2 separate regions of the Homo sapiens genome follow, and region 1 is linked to region 2. The links are contacts of gene promoters, found by promoter capture Hi-C in blood cells and fetal thymus (Javierre and others, 2016). All regions are on one chromosome and are shown on one strand. Each heading gives the region's core, a stretch centred on a gene start or on the middle of the fragment in contact. The rest is flanking DNA. Distances are from core to core; before and after follow the strand shown.

The links. The method cuts DNA at HindIII sites, captures the fragments that hold promoters and counts their contacts. A CHiCAGO score of 5 or more calls a contact.
Region 1: a contact is called between a fragment that was not itself captured here and the fragment with the promoter of ZNF639 in region 2, in 1 of 17 cell types (endothelial precursors). The highest score is 6.0, in endothelial precursors.

What each region holds. Positions count from the first base shown.
Region 1 is chr3:178,446,953-178,453,486 of GRCh38, forward strand. All of the region lies in intron 1 of LINC01014 (long intergenic non-protein coding RNA 1014), which reads left to right. Among named protein-coding and RNA genes, the nearest start is that of LINC01014, 31 kb to the left of the region's middle. The HindIII fragment of the contact is 1,067 bases long and covers 3,253-4,319 here.
Region 2 is chr3:179,319,955-179,326,340 of GRCh38, forward strand. It overlaps ZNF639 (zinc finger protein 639), which reads left to right and starts at 3,077. Exons shown (of 6, transcript NM_001303426.2): 1 at 3,077-3,337. RefSeq lists silencers at 2,807-3,246, 3,277-3,416 and enhancers at 3,987-4,036, 5,078-5,177. The HindIII fragment of the contact is 4,241 bases long and covers 1-4,172 here.

The sequences.
Region 1 (6,534 bases), core at 2,536-5,035, 870 kb before region 2:
GTGATTTAAAATGAATGGACTTGAGCTATAAAAGTTACAATATACTCATGGTGAAGAATAGGTCTATAATGCTGGAATGGGAGGCTCTGGTTTCTGGAAAAGTCAATCAGGAAACGACATAGTAGGGATAGAGATGGCAGGAGCTTGAGTGTGGAAAAAGAGAGAAGAGCTTCAAGGCACTTTCCTTTGACATGTTTGAAGGAAACATTGACTGTGTCAGCATTACTTGCCCAGCACAATTGCCAATATACTATTAGGAACACCAGAGACAACAAAAAGAACTCACCTAATGAAAGAATATTGTCTTATTCTAAATCAATCAATCCTTTAATTAAAGACTTCTTGGTCCTATGCAGGTGAATATATCACCATCACGCCAATGCATGTTTTTCTTGTTGTGAGCATCTGTTCTTTGGATATTCCCAGAAATGAAACTTCACGGGACATAAAATCCTGCATCCTTAGGATGTTAGACCTAAGGATATTAGCTAATCATCTAGCTAATCTCCTTTTGCAGGTGAGAGAACAGTTCAAATTGTGAAGCACAGGTGTATCCAGACAGGCCTTACCTCTCCAACAGTGTTTCAGGATTATAATTTTTCATTACCACAAAAAGAGAGGTAGAAAATTACAGGTTTTGAATGTAATCATAATCCTTTAAAAATACCCCTTGCTCTTGATCTCTGAATTATTATACCAGTTCCAATAAGTTAAGGTTGTCATTAAGTTTTAACTTAATCTCGAAAAGAACTAAGAAAGCTACATGATCTCACAAGGAGAAATACATGGAAAATTTTCCAGCTCATTGCCCCTGACTTTTTATACAATTATGCGTTTGTAAATCCTAATTGTACCTCTGCGATCTGTATCAGCACACTCTATTGGAAGTGGCTCTCATTATGATCTCAGACCTAGCACAGAGTTCCTGAAGTACCTACATTTCTAGAAGACATGGAAACTTTCTGAGAGTCAGAAAGTTCTGTGCAATTTCAGATTGGTTCATTAGCATAATTGTTTCAACATTAAAAAGAAAGATTCAGGCAATTTAAGATGTTTATGTAGAAAAATATGTCTATAACTGTCTCCTCGACAACGTAACATGGAAGAACCACTGATTCACTGTCCAGAATCACCTCATCAATAGCAAAAAGTGCTTCCACTTCTTTAACTGTTGCTCACAAGTATTGGCATCCTGCCTATAATTTCTTTCTTGAAGAAATTCTGTTCCATTAATTCTGAAATTCAGGCACTTCCATATACTCACTTAATCTTACACATCCATGCTAATAATGATTATTTACTTAAAAATGAGTTGATGGCTCTAAAGAATGACAGAGGGATCCAGCCATACCGTTTGTAGTAAGTATTCCAATCTTTGACTCAGTGGATTAATCACTACCAGAATGAAACACGATCTCACCCACAATACTGGATAAGGTATAACTAGCAATGATATAATGGTATTCCAGACTTTTGTATAAATTTATTCCATTTCCAGGTTTCTTATATGACTTACTTCCAAATCAGAAGATTATCTCTGCTCAGAATATAAAAGTTGATAGCTTCCCAAGAGAATAGAAACATCAAAGACAGAAAGCCTTACTTTGATCTGGATTCCTCAAGGGTAGGGAAGGGAGGATGAGTTCACCCAAGAATAAAACAAAACTTTACACCATGCAGCCCCCATCTGACTTGTAAAGAAATTTTTCTCTCAGGCCTCATTTATTCACTCTTTCATTCATTTGGCCAACATTTATCGAGCACCTACTATGTGCCAGGTACTAGGCCAACATCAGGAATTCAAAAGCAAATAAGCTATGTTCCTTCTCTCAAGGAGCTCATCATTAATCAGCCATGTTAGCAAATAATTACAGTGCTCCATTCAGGCTGATATCTACAGTAAATGCTTATGTAATTCATGAGCAGATCACACAGATCAACCTTCAACGCTTTCTGTATTTATTGAATTGGTATTAGTATCTCCGCATATCCCCTCAAAGACTCACAATTTCATACTTTGGATGATTCTTTCAATAATGCTTTGCCTTTGACTAAAATAATCAATACCTGACCACAAAGATGCCCAAAGTTATTAACCATGCAATTTCACATCTTTCAGGAATTTAATCCCACACTTGCTTCCTCCTCATACACATATACACACAAAGCATTTGTCTCACAGTGAGTTAATTCCTGAGTGCTTTTTCAGGCTCCCTTGGCCTATAGATACCATTCAATTAGAGTGACAGGCAGTGAGTCCACTTACCACCTGATACCCCAAAACACTTCAGGAACATCAGGTAGGTAACTCTTGACATCAGGAAGACTGACCATTAAACCAAATCCTAGCTATAGGACTGGAGTTTAGAGGCATGAATTTTCTACTTGTACAGATATTACAAGATCAAGAAAATAGTCACTATTATTGAGTCCTCATCATAAGCCAGGCACTGTGTGTTAAGTATTTAGCAGGTATTATTTCATCCTCACAAAAATGAGGTAGATACTGTGTATTAGCCCATTTTCATGCTACCAATAAAGACATACTCGAAACTGGGCAATTTACAAAAGAAAGAGGTTTAATCGGACTTACAGTTTCACATGGCTGGAGAGGCCTCACAAGCACGTTGGAGGGCAAGGAGGAGCAAGTCACATCTTATATGGATAGCTGCAGGCAAAGAGAGAGTTTGTGCAGAGCAACTCCCGTTTTTTAAAACTATCAGATCTCATGAGACCCATTGACTAGCACAAGAACAGTATAGGAAAGACCCACCCACATAATTCAGTCATCCCTCACTGCGTCCCTCCCACAACACATGGGAATTATGGGAGCTACAAGATGACATTTGGGTGGGGACACAGAGCCAAACCATACCATACTGCTATTATCCCCATTTTAGAGATAAAGCAATTGAGGTCAAATAACTTGCTGAAAGCTACATAACAGTAAGTGGTGAGGCCCTGATGGAAAGCCCAGCATGCTGACTTCAAAGCCCACTGATTAGGAGGACATAGTTAAAGAAACTGGAACCCAAGATCTTAGGGTGGCACTATTAGGACATCTGAATGCTGACTTTAACTTTTCATATTTCCTTTGAGGACAAAATTTTCCTTAGATTTTGATGAACACCAAGTGCCATGGCAAAAGTCCATTAACCACACAATTTTGTCTCATCTTAGTAGAGCCTGATTTGCACAGCCAACTGCTTCCAAATTTTACTGTTTCTGCTGTATCACAATGGCTGTTTATAAAGCTTTTCTCTGGTACAGATGTAAAAGACAGTAAGGAGTTCTGAAAGGATCAATAGGACTATAAAAAATAGATTCTCAAGTTTTACCATCTCTGTCTTATGAAGTTAGCCCTTTATTTATTTATTTATTTAGCTATGAGTGAGTACAATGCTGATTGCACCTGAAGAACATTTTATATTCTGTTTCAGAAACTTGTTAATACCTTGCTTATTAATTAGAAAATAGTGTGGGTGCCTTGTATTCGGGCTAGGAAAGAGACTCCCATTGCCCCGAGTCTCCACTAAAACAGAGCACAGAGCCAACCACCTTTAACATCCAAAAATGAGCCTCTTAGACATATCAAAGTAAGTCTAGCTGAGAGCTGTGTAGCAGACAGCCACAGGGCCCCATCATGATTAATGGTGTCAGTATGAAGTCCCATGTCTGTCATCTGGGTGCAATGTTTGTGATGATGGCATATTCCGCCTTTCAATTCTCACTTTCCTCTTAAGGAAGACTGCTCATTTTTATCCTCTGAGCATGTTCCTAACAAGACGGATGTACCATCACACGTTTAAGGAGGAAGAAAAAAGGGCAACTGCAGGAGTTCAAGTAAAAAATGAAAGCTGAATCATTCTCAGTAATATCCCAAATTTATATCCCTTAGTATCACAAACTGAATTACCTCTATAAACATTAGTTTAGAAAAACAACTTTTCACTTACAGCTGCATGGTAAAGAACCACATCACCTCCATACAGGAAGGATCTTATTTTCAATCTAATGTGCCAATGGCAGTTTCCAATAAGAAGAAGCAATTTGCCAGCCTTGCCAATTACAATTTGTCCTTGGCTGAAGATGACAGCAAAGTCTGTGCCTCTGGTTCATTGAAAACATCAGAAAGATATCCCTAATACTCAGTCTGTTTCTCTGTGAAGTTAAGCATTAAGGAGGTGATTAAAATTCAGCTTAATTTTGGTACCAAATCAAAGGAAAGACATTGCTATCTGATGGTAGGAGAGGGTTTCAAAACTATCCAAAGCAGCAATGACATGTATTTACATTCCAAGCCCTGTGGATGACATTGAAGCTTGGTGCCTCCAGTTTCACCCTCGCCAGGAAGTGGCTGTTCTGTATCCCATGGATATAGGGCTAAAGGAGGTATCGACACTTACTGCACACAGATTGATTTAAACATGCAGCTCTTGCCTCACTTAATACCTCTTTTATTAAAAGATGACCCTTGGCCATGAAAGAAAGGTCTGGGAAGAAATGGCTCTTATTGTGACACTGGTTTTCTGTGTAATGATCAGAAAATTATTTTCCCTCATTTTGCCCAAGCTATAATGTTAAGACACATCAGAGAGTTGATTTGTGAGGTTGCTATGATGACAGAATCACATGAAAAAGCAGATTGGAGATATCTGCTGTGTTAATAGGCTTTTAAAGATAAGTAAACCGATGACACCCAAACAATTATCCAAGAAAACACTTTTGAAGTTGGTCTGCCACTATTACATCAATGCAACACTGGATTATTAGTGTGAGGAAGTGGGAGACTTTGCTTGCTAATTAAAGGTAATACTTATGTCCTGACAATGATTTGATGCACAGGAAATTAAGCCTAAATTATCTCCTCTGGTTCAAGCATCAAATAAATGTTTTAGGGAGAGACATGATCTGGTGATTTATTTATTAATTCAATAACCCTTCATTGAATGTCAACTCCATGCCTGATTGGCTTCACTAGAGGCACAAAGGTGAGTAAAACTGGGCTCCTGCCTCAAAGGACTTGCAGAAGACTGAAGGGGGCACACCTGCTCCTCAGCCCTGGCCACTACACTTGCCCTCACTTGGAGGCTCACACTCTTCATGAGCTGCCTGCCCACTTTCCATGCTGATCTCTGTGGGAACACACTCTACTCCATTTTTACCTAATTAACTCCTACTTATCATTCAGATTTTAGCTCTGTGCCTGGCACATGGTATTTGCTCAATAATTATTATTGAATGAATGACTAAATGAACAAAACATCATAATACAATACAAGAAGTTCTCAGATACAGGAGGAAGCAAACAGCTCTTGGGCGCTGGGACCATGTTAAGGATATCAAGGAAGGCTTCACAAAGGGCATTTGAGCTCGTGGTATTTGAGATAGATTTTGAATGGAATTGAAGGGTAAATAAGGGCAACATGAAGAGAGGGTTACAAAGTGGTGAGAAAAAAGGAAAACTTATACTAAACAAAGGGAACATCATCTGCAAAGGCATGAAGGTATAAATGAGAATGAAGTGTTGGACAAACAGCAAGTTTAGGGTGACTAAAACATAGAGCACATTGAGAACAGTTTAAACTGGAAAGTATGTATGAACTCTATGTTGAAGGCCTTAGATGCCATAGTTAAAAGTACTGATTTTTTTCCTAAGGTGATGGGAAGTCTTTGAAGGCTTATACATAGGTGTATCTATTGAGATTCAGAGGCAAAGTAAGTGAAAAACAGTAACCACTCTAGCTTAAGGAGAAAAAGAAGAATTTATTAAAGAATATTAAGTAGTTCAGAGACACTCTGGCAGAGACTGTGAGTCCAGACTTAGAGACTCCAGCAAAGACCACTGAGCACATACTCTAGCGGTCACATCAAGACCCTGGGCACTAGGCAGCAAAACCTCCCCCAGTACTCTAAGAAAGCCATTCCTGTCACCCTCAACAGAAATGAATTCCACACAGCACCTCCTTCCTCCCATTGCTTTTTGTCTAATCATAGTCATGCTTATATTCTTCTGATTGGCCCAGGTCGTATGCCAGCACCATAGCTGCAAGGGAGACTGGAAAGTGAATTTCTAGCTTCTATCTAGGAAACCCTGATGTGAGAAATTCCAAGCACAGAAAAGGTATTTCAAAGAAGCTAAAAGGCTACAAATCATAGAAACTATCCACTGCCACATGGAAGATGCATAATCAAGTTGACATCATAAAAAGATTCATTTGGTAGCATTATTGAAAATGGATTGGAGAAGAGGAGAGTTGGGAGACAAGGGGATCAATTTAGAAGGTTAGAGCAGGCAAAAGACGAAAAGAACATAGACTTTAGTGCTGACTGTGGACACAGAAGAGTGAACACAGAACAAGGATATAAGATCTAGGAAGCAAGAACCTGGTCTGTCTTTTCACTTCTGGAACAACAGCACATAGCAGGTGTTCAATAATTTTTGCTTTTATTGTTAAAGAGTAATTTACATACAATAAAATTCACCTTGTTTGTGAATTTTGAAAATTGTATATCATAATGTAACCACTACCA
Region 2 (6,386 bases), core at 1,827-4,326:
CTCTAAAGATTGGTCAGAGATTTCGGCAAGGGAAAATCAAGGTTTCATAGAAGAGATCAACTGTGAGCTTCATCTTACAGAAACAAAGGAAACAAATTGCAGGTGGAAGAAACGTGCTAGATCACACAAGTGAGAAAAAGGCAGAGCGTATCTGTGGAATAGTGAGAAATACTATATGGTTAGTGTGGGGTTGGGTGAGGAAAGACTTAGGATAGTGGTTCTCCAGACGTGATCACAGGCCAGCAGCATGGACTTCGAAAGGAAATTTGTTAGAACTGCAGCTACTCAGGCCCTAGTCCAGATTTACCCAGTTCTCTTCATCCCATATCCCAAAATAAATTGTAGACAAACGAAAAAGTTAAAGCAAAAAATGCAACCAGATCCTGCATAGAAGAAAAGATTATCTCAGCAAAAGGCCAAAAATAGAACTTGCAAAGGAAAAGATTAATAGACTTGCTTTCACTACAATTTAAAATGTTTGCACCACTAACAAAATTAAAAAACAACAAACTGCAATTACGCCTGTAATCCCAGTACTTTCGGAGGCCGAGGTGGGCGGATCACCTGAGGTCAGGAGTTTGAGACCAGCCTGGCCAACATGGTGAAACCCGTCTCTACTAAAAATACAAAAATTAGCCCCGTGTGGTGCCACGCGCCTGTAATCCCAGCTACTCGGAGGATGAGGCAGGAGAATCGCTTGAATCTGGGAGGCGGAGGTTGCAGTGAGCCAAGATCACGTCATTGCACTCCAGCCTGGGCGAAAGAGCAAGACTCTGTCTCAAAAACACACAAACAAACAAACAAAAAACATAAAGAATGCTCGTGCTATACTAATTGGAAAAAAGAACCTGTTAGAAAAAAACACAGCCAATATTCTAATTTTGAAAACAAATTTTTATGTCAGTATAGGTATAAAAATAACGGAAAGATAGAAAGCAAAATGTTACCATTGATGAGCTCAGGGTTGTGAGATTATGGTAAATTTACTTTTGCTCTTTGTACTTTTCTGTTGTCTCCATTCTGTACTAAAAACGTAACTATTTTCTAATCAGGAAGAAATTAAGTGGCCGGGCGCGGTGACTCGCGCCTGTAATCCCAGCACTTTAGGAGGCCAAGGCGGGCGGATCACTTGATGCCAGAAGCTCAAGACCAGCCTGGCCAATATGGTGAAATCTCAGCACCACTAAATATACAAAAATTAGCCAGGTGTGGCAGCTCGCGCCTGTAATCTCAGCTAATCTGAAGGGTGGGGCACGAGAATTGCTTGAATTTAGGAGGTGGAGATTGCAGTGAGCCGATATCCCATCTCTGTACTGGAGCCTGGGCGACAGAGTGAGACCGTGAGAAAGAAAAAAGAAAAAAAAGAAAAGGAAGGAAGGAAAGGAAGGAGAAATTAAGCTATTCTACAAGTGTGTGAAAAAGTTGGAAGAACGATGTTTTAATAGCCCTGAATCAAATTTATAATAGTATTTAACAAACTCTACAATTTAGCACTCTTGAGATTTTAGGGTTTTATCCCAGCTATCACCCTCCCTTGGAGCGGGAGATGAGGAAAAGAGGGACCCAAAAATGAAACTGAAAAACACTCCAGCTAATCAAGAACTTGAAATTGCTTGCAATTTGTGACTATGTTAAACAACATCTAAACAAAGTCAAGCTCCTCTAAGTGCAAACAATACGTGGGATGCTGGGGAGAGTGTGCGTTTACTTTCACTACAAAATGTTTTGGAGTAAAACTTCATTTTGAAATATAAAGATTTTGTTGGACACAAGGCTATGTGGTAAGGCAAAATGGTAAGATGGTGGCATGACACCCCCTTGTGGTTTCCACCGATTCCCGGTTCTGTGCTAGATACTAACTATTCTAGGATTTAAAAATGTCTCTACATTTCTTCGAACTTTAATTCGGGCCATACTAGCATTCGTGAGCATTTATTTGAGCTGAGTACGCACATAAAACTTAGGAGGTCATAAAAACTGAGCCTCACAAACAAGTAGTGTCTCTTTCAAATATAGCTTTATCTCCTGGGGGATGGTGAAGGGATCAGAGTAAAGTCTGTGATTATTACTTTCCAGCGATTGATTGGTTGATTGGCATGTGGTTGTCAGAAAAAGCAGTGGACGTGAACAAAGAGACATCATTGCAGCCCTAACTATCCGAGTGACCTTGGGTACCTGATAATCCACATGGCTCTCAGTCATCCTCTTAACCGTTTGAACCTCAGGGGTTTAGGCTACCAAAATGAATTAAGACCCAGTCTTTAGCTTCTCACACATTTACTTTTCCATTTTGTAAAATGTGACTAAAAACCTCAACTCATTGTCAAAAGGACTGAATTAAACATATCACCACACTTGCACAGAGATCATTTATGGAACCATGTTCACAAATTTATTTATGCTCGTGTAATTTAATCATTTCTACAGCTGCTCAAAGAAAGTCAAAGTCGAGAAAGGACTTAAATCGTCGAGTCCAGTCCCCCTTAACTCCTCATTCATTCCACTATTTCTCGAGCCAAGGAATCGGGTGAAACTCAACAACGACTCGCAGTCTTCAGGTTTCACCCTCTTGCCCTGAGGGCAGCATCCTAGCCCTAGGTGGTTCTCTGGTGTGGCCTCAGTAAAACCGTGACGAGGTCCTCGGCCTCTCTGTCCCCAACAGGCGGCTGGCACACTTCGGGGTCTGAGATGCCATCTGCCTTGCCTAACCTGGGCAAGACCACTCGCGTCCTTTCCCTTGAGGAGCAGCGTGGGAAAGGTGCCGCTGCGCGCCACGTTTCTCCCAGTTCCCCAGGGCTTGAAGGGGCGGTGGAGGCGGGCGGGATAAATTCGCTGGCCGCCTGGCGTGGAGTAATCCTAGAGGGTGGGATCGCCCTCGGGGCTCGGGAGGGGCTCTTCCCCGCCCAGAAGGAGACTGCGGCGGCGCAAGGCCTCCGGCAGGGGGCGCGGGCCGCTGGGCCTCCCCCGGGGCTGCGGGCCGGTGGTCCCTCCCAGGCCGCGTGTGCGGTGCGTTCGCGCAGCCCGCTCCCTGCCCCCACCTCACCTCGTCACCTCCCCGCCCTCTCGGCGGGCCCCTGAGGTGCGCGGCGCAGGCGCGGAGCGTGGCGGCCAGGGCAGTGCGGCCGCGGAGCCTAGGCCAGGGGCCTGGCGCTCAGGGCGTGGGGCGCGCGGGGAGGGAGAGGGGTCGGCCCAGCACAGCGTCCGGGAGCGCTAGGGCCGGAGCAGCGCTGCCCGCCGCCGTGCGTCCGCGGGAAGGACCGCGCGGCCCCTCCGCCTGCGCTCTCGGCCGCCGCCGCCTCTGCGTGGGCCGGCCGGGAGGGCCTCGGGGGACTGACTGGTGAGTGTGAGGGAGGAGCGGGTGGGTCGGGCGCTGGACTGCTCCAGGGGACGCGGGCGTGCGGGCGCATCTTCTAACGGGAGAGGGCGGGAGAGACCGGAGCTCCCTTTATACGGAAACTCTGCCTTCGTTATATGGCGGGATGGCGTTCCCCTCCCCCATCCCGAAGGCAGTTCCACCCCCTGCGCAGGACGCCTTGGCCGGGCTCCCCTCGGCCCCCTGCTGCCGTTGTCTTTACGGAACCTTTGGTGTCGGGGCTTGGAAGTCTCCTTGGCGCCGGCTTCTGGGCCCGGGCGAAGCTGGTGCGTGGCGCCGGGGTGGAGGCGGCTAAGTCCCAGGGACTTCTGCCCTGCGCCTCCGACGGGCATTTGTCTGGCTGCGTCCGGGCTCGGGACGATCCTGGGTCCTCGCTGGCGCTGCGGCCCTGCCCGGCGGCTTCGTGACCTCCGGCGGCGAATCCCCGGGCTCGCGCAACGAGTTGTAGCCGCGGAGAGCAGGCGTCGATGCTGGCGCCCAAAGCCTCCAGCCTGAGAGTCGCCTCACTCGTGTGACGGTGCTTAGAAACCCCCTTTTTTGGTTTTGTCTTTAAGTACTGTCTAGGGAAACGAATCATTTGAAGCAGTTTATGCCTTTTTTGTTTTTTTCGAAGAGAAAGATTTATGCCGGACTGAAAAATAGCGAATCAAGTATTTAGTGACCGTGTGATATTGCAGTAAAGACTGCCTCCACGTTGGACATGTAGTGGATTCTAGTTCAGGCTCTCCTGCAACATGTTTTTGTTTCAATTCTTTTACAATTTAAAGCATATGCTTATTTTAATGAGAACGAAAAAGAAAGCTTAACTCTTTTTAAACTCGTTAAAAATGGAGTTATTTACTGTAAAGACGTCTTACAGCAATTAGGAAGAATATACATTGCATGAAAGGCCTTTTGAAACGTTTATCTATTTGATGATTGCTGACTGCCTGTTGTATGTATTCTATTTTGTGCATAGACTTTCTTGTTGGTTGAAAAAAATGACAGGTGGAAAGATGTTGGTTTCTAGGTGATATAAAAAATTTTTAAACATTTTTCTGATTTTTCTGCAGTGACACGTGTTACATATGTCGTTTGTATTTCAGAGGGAGGGGGGACTGTGATAGGTTGCTTGTGATTCAGAATCTTCCTGCTAAGAAGACTAGTGAGCAAATGTTTATGACATCCTTGAGTAGAAAGCTAAGTTTTTTCAAGGCTGTTATGCACACAAAAGGCACATAAAAATGATTGCTAAAATGAAGGATGGTTAGCATTTTTGGTCTTGAGTAGGCATCACCATTGTGCTGAAAGGAAGTCCGATAGACATTTGGTTATCGTTCGGCCCTAAGTAGGAGTCAGACCCTTCCTGATCCGTGTGCCTCCTCCTCTCACCTAACAGCCTGAATCCAGGCCAGCTTGCAACGTTGATTTTAATACCACGCTTGGTTTCCTTTTCTTACTTTTATTCTTCAAGTTGCAAAGAACTTGAGATGCATTCTGAAATAACAAGAGACTACTTAACATGTTCGGCTGAGTGTTTTCAGTGTTCTCCCTGATACTTTTAGAGTATTTAGAACATGAAGTGTGAAGCTTTGGGCTATATGAATCGTAATAGCTCTTCTCTTTTTGATTTTTGAATGCAGTGAATTGAGATGGTTACTCAAGGAATGATTGTTTACATTGTTAGGTGAGGCGTTTGATTTTATTCTTTTTTCTTTCTTTCTTTCTTTTTTAGACAGAGTTTCACTCCTGTTACCCAGGCTGGAGGACAATGATGTGATCTCGGGTCACCACAACCTCCGCCTCCCGGATTCAAGCGATTCTCATGCCTCAGCCTCCCGAGTAGCTCAGATTACAGGCATGTGCCACCACGCCCGGCTAATTTTGTATTTTCAGTCGAGACGGGGTTTCCCCATGTTGGTCAGGCTAGTCTTGAATTCCCGACCTCAGGTGATCTGTTCGCCTCGGCCTCCCAAAGTGCTGGGATTACAGGCGTGAACCACTGCACCCGGCGAGGTGAGGTATTTTATATATTGGTATCATTTCTGTACATTTCATGGTTGTCTGTTTCTTTAGGCTATTCTGTTCCCCTTCTCCCAACTGGTAGCTAAGAACTGGAAGCAAGATGTGCATGCATTTTCATCTCTGGTTCTCCCACTTATTAGTTGACTTAACTTTCACTAAGGCTGTTTCCACATCAGTAAAAATGTAAATGGGTTTGATAGTAACTCCTCCATGTACCGCACAGGACCATTTTGAAGATGAAATAGAATAAGGGTTAGGAAAATGCTTAATAAACTGAAAAGGCCGGGCGCGGTGGCTCACGCCTGTAATCCCAGCACCTTGGGAGGCCGAGGCGGGCAGATCACGAGGTCAGGAGATCGAGAACATCCTGGCTAACACGGTGAAACCCCGTCTGTACTAAAAATACAAAAAATTAGCCGGGCGCCTGTTGTCCCAGCTACTTGGGAGGCTGAGGCAGGAGAATGGCATGAACCCGGGAGGCGGAGCTTGCAGTGAGCCAAGATAGCGCCACTGCACTCCAGCCTGGGCGAAAGAGCGAGACTCTGTCCGAAAAAAAAGTAAAAATAAAATAAACTGAAAAAGCACTATCTCATTCCCTGCTGTATTATATCACTTCAGTGCTGATATACCCAGAACTTAGTGAAGCAGCAAAAATAGTATGTGCACCTCAGCTAGAACACCTGTCATGTGTATCACCTTGGTGTTAAGAGCATTATAGGCCGGGCGCGGTGCCTCGTGCCTGTAATCCCAGCACTTTGGGAGGCTGAGGTGGGCGGATCACTTGAGGTCAGGAGTTCAAGACCAGCCTGGCTAACATAGTAAACCCCCGTCTCTACTAAAAATACAAAAATTAGCTGGGTGTGCTGGCGGGTACCTGTAATCCCAGCCTCCTGCTGGCGGGCGCCCGTAATCCCGGCCACTCAGGAGGCTGAAGCAGGAGAATCGCTTGAGCTGGGGAGGCAGAGGTTGCAATGAGCCAAGATCGTGCCACTGCACTCCAGCCTGGGTG